2 separate regions of the Homo sapiens genome follow, and region 1 is linked to region 2. The links are contacts of gene promoters, found by promoter capture Hi-C in human tissues and cell types (Jung and others, 2019). All regions are on one chromosome and are shown on one strand. Each heading gives the region's core, a stretch centred on a gene start or on the middle of the fragment in contact. The rest is flanking DNA. Distances are from core to core; before and after follow the strand shown. Region 1 has its middle 130 kb from the start of DMRT2. Region 2 holds the start of DMRT2 (doublesex and mab-3 related transcription factor 2).

What was found. Contacts are between HindIII fragments. The study calls those that stand out against the background at their distance.
Region 1: a fragment that was not itself captured here is called in contact with the fragment with the promoter of DMRT2 in region 2 in 2 of the 25 tissues and cell types used here (H1 embryonic stem cells and mesendoderm cells).

The regions. Positions count from the first base shown.
Region 1 is chr9:1,179,436-1,184,647 of GRCh38, reverse strand. No RefSeq gene overlaps it. Among named protein-coding and RNA genes, the nearest start is that of DMRT2, 130 kb to the right of the region's middle. The HindIII fragment of the contact is 5,380 bases long and covers 134-5,212 here.
Region 2 is chr9:1,049,107-1,051,606 of GRCh38, reverse strand. DMRT2 (doublesex and mab-3 related transcription factor 2) reads right to left here and starts at 1,250. Exons shown (of 4, transcript NM_181872.6): 1 at 832-1,250; 2 at 1-37. RefSeq lists an enhancer at 609-1,478. The HindIII fragment of the contact is 14,990 bases long and covers 1-2,500 here.

The DNA.
Region 1 (5,212 bases), core at 1,574-4,073, 130 kb before region 2:
TTCCACCAAGGGGCTTCATTGTTCTGAAGCGCCAAGCCTTGCTTCATCTCCTTGGCTGATGGTATTATCATAAAACAGCCAGAGAAGAATTTGCCAAGCCAGTGATAACTTCATCTCTGTGTTTAACAGGGTGTCTTCTGGGCAGGGCTCCAGGCTGCCTCAGGCTTGTGAGCCTTCAGAGGGGCAAAGCAATGCCTAGAGCTGCTCTCCCAGGTCTGAGGTGCAGAGAGAGAAGGGAAACAGATTTTCAGCACTATCCTAGTGGTTCTGTAGTTTACAAAGTTCAAGCACAACTGCTTGTGATTTCCTGACTCATTCCAAACCATGGATAAACCAAACACAACCAGATGTGGCAATTTCTGTGTAAAAAGACACTATGAAGGATCAGGGAATTTGACTGCTTCTCCCATGTGCTCCTATGATATACTTCATAACTGTAGTGGCCATCTGTTGCTTCTGCCTGCTCAGTATCCATTCCTTTGTCTTATGCCATTATCACCTTTATTTTTCCTGCAGGATCACTTCTTAGTTGATGCAATTTGGGCAGAGCCTACTTCATGGTCCTAGTACTCAAGGAGAACATTTGACCAGGACTCAACGAAGAGAAGACTCCATCATCCTGGCCACAGTGATTGATTCAGGGCTACACATGTGGCCCATGTCTGAGAACTTCTTCAGGAACTACTGGGAAAAGATGTTTCCTTTCTACCGGGTTTGCTAAGCTGGTACAATGTAAATCTGGATCTGCTGGTGAACATCTTGCAGGGGAAAGATCCTGTGTGAGAACGGTGCCCTTAACGAATGAAGCACTGTCAAAAGTGAGAGATAGATATGAATATATTGCTTGACACCTGAATACAGTCATGCCTAAAGTCATTCTCACATTTTAATCATGAGACCCAATACATTTCATTTCTTGCTTAAGATGGTTTTATCTAGGTTTCTATTTTGAAAATAAAAGTTCTGATAAATATGCTACCCAACAACAAAAAGGAAATAAAAGGTGTCAAGTGTCTCAAATGATTCATGCATTGATTTATTTTAAAAGCATATATTGCCCAGGTGTGCTGGCAATGCACCTGTAGTCCCAGCTATTCAGGAGTCTGAAACAGGAGGATCACTTAAGCCCAGGAGTTCAAGTACAGCCTGAGCAACATAGGAAGACCCTCTCTTTTTTTTTTTTTTTTAAGAAAAAAGCATATATTAAATACCTAACCTATACCATGCTCTATGTTTGGTAAGGGACACAGAGACAAATAAGGCACAATCCTTGCCTTAAAGGTTTACAGTCTAATTTCCAGTTTGGCAATCAAATCATTGGCACTCGAGAGTTTCAAGAATTCAAAGGACAGTGGGGATTCTTGAGCTTATTTTTATTAAGAAATTAAACAGCATGGATTTGCACAAGGACCCAGTAACTTCATATAATCCAGATTATGTGCCTTAGTACTTCATATGCAACTTACTTCCATTACATACTTTTGTGAAAGGAGCGAAATACATAGCTAGCAAATTTGAGAAAGAGGAATATGGTAGCCACATGTTTATGCCTGCACAAGTCCATTCCTTCTGATAATGGCTTTGAAGTACCAACTCCACCATTGCCTGCAATCTTGGTGAGACTATCAAGCATGGTGCTCCGATTCACAGACTAAGGCATGGCCATAAGATACAAGATGGTCTAGTCGGTTAGGTCACTTCTCCTCAGTCCTCTTTTCCAGTTCCTCCCCTTGTGTCTCTGCCTCGGGCTTTTTCTCTTTTCCATCTACACTCACTCCCAAGTTGATCTCAACCAGCCTCATGGTTGTAATACCAATGATTTACTGATGTCTCCCAAATTAATATCTCCAGCACAGACCTCTCCCTTGAACCCTGATTGCCTACTTGCAATTTAACACATCGAAACCAAGCTTCTGAATCCCCCAAAAACTGCTCTTTCCCGTAGCCTTTTCCATCTTAATAGCTGCTCAGGTGAAGAAACCTGGGAGTCATGATTGATTCATCTCTTTCTGTCATGCTTCGTATCCTAGCTGCCATTAAATCCTAATGACCATTCCTTCGAAAAAGATCCAGAGCCAATCCCTCTCATCACCTCCACCAAGGTCACTCTTGCCCAAGCCCAAATCGTCTCCTACCTGGGTGTGTATTCTCAGCAGAGCAGCCAGGGTGAGCCTTTTTTTTTTTTGAGGCAGAGTCTCCCTTTGTCGCCCAGGCTGGAGTGCAGTGGGGCGATCTCAGCTCACTACAAGCTCTGCCTCCCGGGTTCCCGCCATTCTCCTGCCTCAGCCTCCCAAGTAGCTGGGATTACAGGCACCTGCCACCATGCCCGGCTAATTTTTTTTTTTGTATTTTAGTACAGATGGGCTTTCACTGCGTTAGCCAGGATGGTCTCAATCTCCTGACCTCGTGATCTGCCTGCCTTGGCCTCCCAAAGTGCTGGGATTACAGGCGTGAGCCACCGCGTCTGGCCCACAGTGAGCCTTTTAAAAAGCAAGTCATCACTGTCTCCTCTGCCAGGAAAGCTCATCCCTAACATCTACACAGATGTCTTCTGGGTCTTGGCTCAAACCTCACTTTTAAGTCAGGCCTTTACCAGTCACTCAATTTAAAATTGCATCACCCATAGAAAAAGTAAAACAAACAAACAAACAAAAAAATGCATCAACCTCTCCATTTAGTCTCCATAACATGAATTGCCAAGTAGCATATTATATGTTTTATTCATTTTTGTTTGTTAATTTATATTGCCAGTCTCTTCTAACTAGAATGTAAGCTCCATCATGGCAATAATTTTTATCTGTTTTGTTCAGTGTTTTAAACCGAGAACCTAAAACGGTGCTTTGCACTCAATAAATACATGATTCAATAGTAAAGCCATGGAATCAACCTAGATGCCCATCAACAGCAGATTGGATAGAGAAAATGTAGTATATATACACTATGGAATACTATGCAGCCCTACAGAAGAATTAAGTCATATCCTTTGTAACAACATGGATGCAGCTGGAGGCCATTATCCTAAGCAAACAGCACAGGAACAGAAAAACAAATACCACTTATCCTCACATGTAAGTGGGAGCTAAATACTGGGTACACATGGACATAAAGATAGGAACAATGAACACTGGAGACTACCAGAGTGGGTAGAGCGGAGATGGGGATAAGGGCTGAAAAAGTACCTATTGGGTACTATGATCCTTTATACCTCAAAACTCAGCATCATGCCATATACCCATGTAACAAACTTGCACAAGTACACTCTGAATCTAAAATAAAAGCTGACATTATTAAAAATAAATAAATATGTGATGCATGAATGAATGAACTGGTGTTCTTTTAGAGGAGGAGCCAGTAACAGAAAACAGTTGGTGCAGATTAATTCCGGGACCAATGCCCAAAAGAGAACACCCTTTAGCACGAGCCACCTAGATCTTCTGAGCTATTCTATATTCCCTAATGCCCAGTTCTTCTGCCTTTCTTTCCGTTCTTTGAGCTACCCATGTCTGACCAGTAAACTTTCCATGTTATGTTAGCCAAGGTCAGTTTCTGTTGCTTGCAACCAAAGATTCCTGGCTGATTCAAGGAGCTGAATGAACATGTAAGCCCTCACTACACCATGACCACTGTGACAATGCACAGAGATGTGGTAGTCTAATAAGGTTTTAAATGCAAATGGCATAGGGAGAGTTGTTTATAACTTAAATTCACCAAAAATAATAAAAATAAATGTCTTTACTCTGAGTCTTTCCTAAAATGAACATTATCCTGCTCATTTTAAACCAGCAAGACCTTGTTCATTTGCTAAATGTATCTTTTCTTCATAAAACAACGTATTTGCATAAATATTCTAAAGAGATTCATGAGGTGATACTAAACAGGAGATTTGTGAATAGAGCAGAATACCTTCACCGCAATGTTAGAACTGAGATGATCAGACATGAGTGGTATGAAAAACAGCATAGGCCTTTAAATATATTTGATTCCAATTTTTATGTAAAGTGGGAGAAGAAGAAAAGGAGATACACCAGAACATTAATGGTGGCTCTGTCTAGATAGAGGAATTATGATGATTTATATTTTATTATTTATCCCTTACTGAGTTTTTACAAGTTTTCTAGTTAATGAACAAATATTCCTTTGGAATTCAAAAGACAAACCTTTTTTTTTTTTTTAGGTATGAAAAGAGTCTGAAAACGGCATGCCCTTTAGTAAAACCTCCCAGTTACAAGCAAAAAGTCACAGGCGATAAAATGAGACCCTCACCTTCAGAAAGTCTTTTCCTTCTGGATAGCAACAGAACATGGGCAAAAAGGAGAAGAGGAAGCAGGAAGGGGAACAGATCGTAGATCAATGCTTCTCACATGACACCCGGAAAACCATCTGCAACAGAATCGCCAGGGGTGCTTGTTAAAAATGAAGATTCCTGACAACCAGCCCATATCTGCTGTACAGAACCTCTGAGGGTCTTGAGCAAGTTCCCCCAGTGAATTTCATGCCTGTTAAAGTCTAAGAACCCCTGGAAAGATGAAGGACACTACTTGAAGCTCCTTGGAGGATTTATCGAACCTCTGCTTGAATAATTCTAACCGAATGATAAAGCTTCACTCTGTAGAGAGAAAAATGCAATCAATCAGAACCATCACCAGTAGAAAGCAAAGTTTCTACTTTGCTTTCTATTGTGCAGACACAATGTATATCATATGCTGATGACACAACATCTGCTATCCGAACCCCCATAAATCCATCAGCCAGTTACCAAATAAGACAGTGGAATCTTCATTATGAAAGCTTATTTGACAAGTTATAATAATTGATCATTAAATCATTTTTCCCATGATAAAACTATCATCAGTGAAAATCTGATCAACCCAATTAGCACTAAACACATTTGTTTGGTCTTACTAGAATTTTTAAAGGACAGCTCTTTAATAGTAAATCAGTTTGATGCCTGCCTCGTCCTTCCTGCTTTTCACCAGACACTTTCAGCCAGAATAAATGACTCCTCAGGCTCTTCTACTCCTTATTCCCTGGGTATGACACATGCATTCCACTTCTGTGCCTGAGTCTCCCTGTGCCTCCTATGAATGACCCTCCTCTCTCCTTTCTGCTTTCCTGGGTCCTCTCCTTAAGGCCCTGTCAGTTAGGACTTGGCCACTTGGAGCAGAAGCCCAATGACCCGTGGCTTAACCCCAGAGTGGTTGGTTTCCTTGCC
Region 2 (2,500 bases), core at 1-2,500:
GGGGCTTCGCTGGGGCCTGAGCCTGGCGGCCCTCACTCTGGGGAAACACAAAGAAATCCAAAGACCCACCGGCCGCCGTCAGGGACCATCCCTGAGCCTCCGGCCCAAAGCTCCTGGTCTGCCCGCCTCCGGCCGCTTGAGTCATCCTGTTCTCATTACATGTCCCTCACTTCCAGGCCACACGTGCCTTTCCTGTATCTCCAGGGCCCCCAGGGATCCACAACCCAACAAAGGTTTTATTTTATTAATTCTAAGTGCTCTGTGAGTACCTGACCTTTAACCGTGGCCCTCTCTGGCTTTACACGGGCTTTCCGGACAAGTCCCTGGGTAACTCACTTATCACACACACACAAAATATTGTGTCCAAATAGGCAGCCCCAGGCCACTTGTCGGATTTCCCCATACTCAACTAGTATGGCCATGATGCATATAAAACTATCCGTGGAAGAACAGTTTTCCTTTGATTACAAGTGGCCCTTCAGACTCACTGAAGTACCACTCTATGCTTCCCAAATGCCTCTCATCAGCCTACACCACCACAAGGACCCCTCCTTGGGCTTGAAGAGGTCCTCTCACCCCCCTCCCCAAAATACTCAACTGAAAACCAAAATTTTGTTGTCATTAGCGTCCCATAAGGGCAAAGAGCACAATACAGACGCCCGTCCAGCCTTAATAGTACCTGAGGTGCACAGGGCTGAGCCGCGTGGGCTCTCTGTACTTAGGCCTTGGTTTATATATTTAAGGTAAGGCATCCAAGTCACACAGAAAAGGTGAAAGATGATTCACGCCCTTTGCCCTCCCTGACACCCCGAGCGGCATCACAGCACTCACCAAAACTTTGAGGCCCGGGCTGGTAGCCCAGTTAAAAGATATCCAGCTTTAGGATCTGGCGCTAGGGCTGCTGGCTGTGCATGCAAACAGAAATCGGGGTCGCTACCCTCAAACACGAGATCGGGAGCTGATAGCTGGAGGCCCGGAACGAACCCACTGGATGGTGGAGGGGGAGGGAGAAGGTAGGTGGAGGGAAGGAGGGAGGAAGCCAGTCAAGTCCTCAGCGACCTAGCCCAGCACATCCCGAACTCTGCAAAGTTCTGCTCGGTCTTCTGCAGCCTCGGGCGCCTCACCTTGCTGAGGCCGCTTTCGGCTTCCTCTGACCCAGGCTGGGCGGGAAAGGTCGGGCCGCCCCCGCCTGGCTCAGATCGCTGGCTCACCCGGCGGGCGCGCGCAGTTGCATTCAGCGCAGCGCCACTGGCTTCAGTCTGCAGACTGCGCTCCCCTTCCTAGTACTGTCCGCTCAGGCCCCGGAGCTTTACGTCCTCTGATTGGCCGGTTGTCAGGCGGTGTGAATACTGATTGGCCGAGGCACGCTGGCAGGGAGCCCTCCGCCTCCCGCGGTCTACACTCTTCTCTCTGAAGCGCTCCGCCAGAGTCCGCCTACCGGGCCTTCGGTGCAGCCGGCTCGCCTGTCCAGAATCTAAACCCGAGGTATGACGGTGCCTGCAAGAGAGAAGTCACCATTTATCTCGCGGACTGGGAAACAAGCAGAGATACATTCTTAGGAATGCGTTGTCCACAAGAGAAGGTAATAAACGACGAGGAAGAGATCAGAAAGACCAGTATTGGCCTCTATCAGCATCACAAGCATTTCTGCGACTCAATCAATCATTAATCCAAACTGGGCGTAAAAATGATGCCTCTCTTTCGGGGCGTACAGCGACATCCTTCTTTCTCCTGCAAGAGTACATCAATGGTTACCTGGCACCGAAACTCCTAGTTAGCATACAAATAGCCTGTTGATATTTCTGTGTCTAGTGCCACCTATTCTCGAAGTGCCAAATAGCTCCTCATTAACCTTCACCGAGCCCGTGTGGCAGGTGGCCAAGTCGACTACAAGTCACTTACATTTTTCTGTTATATCAGTTGCTATTACAGTTAATGTAGGGAAGATCAGAAATGCATGCTATTAAGAGAATTAGGTAAATCCATTCACACTAAGCATGCATTTAAACAAAGTTATTTTTAAAAAGATGACTACTTTTTAGTGTGCGTAGTTGTATTTATAGACTTTCTAACGACTCCCTCAAAAAATCCTTTACAAAATGTTTAACGATAAAAAATTTTCAACATATTAAAAGAAGGAATTAGTCTTCTAATTCAACGCTGCATTCTATTTCTTGAACTCAATTAAAAATAATATGGGCGCTTTTCTAACTGCATCTGTAAATAATCAAGACCTCTCGAGTAGGATCTGTTTAGGAGACTACAAAATTGGGTATCATTGCACTGAGTACATAGTAGGCCCGCAACAAATATTTGTTGAAGGGTGGGAATTCCTGACGTAATCCCAACGTTACTTTTGTCCGAGTTTGTCAGAATGTTAAAAGTTAACCTGGATCAGAGAAGTGGGAACAAAGGCAGCTTAGGAACTACCGCGACCAGCCAGAAGCACTATTCTCAAACCTTCAGTGATGTTGTAAAGTTCCTCCCCGGTGACCAGGCA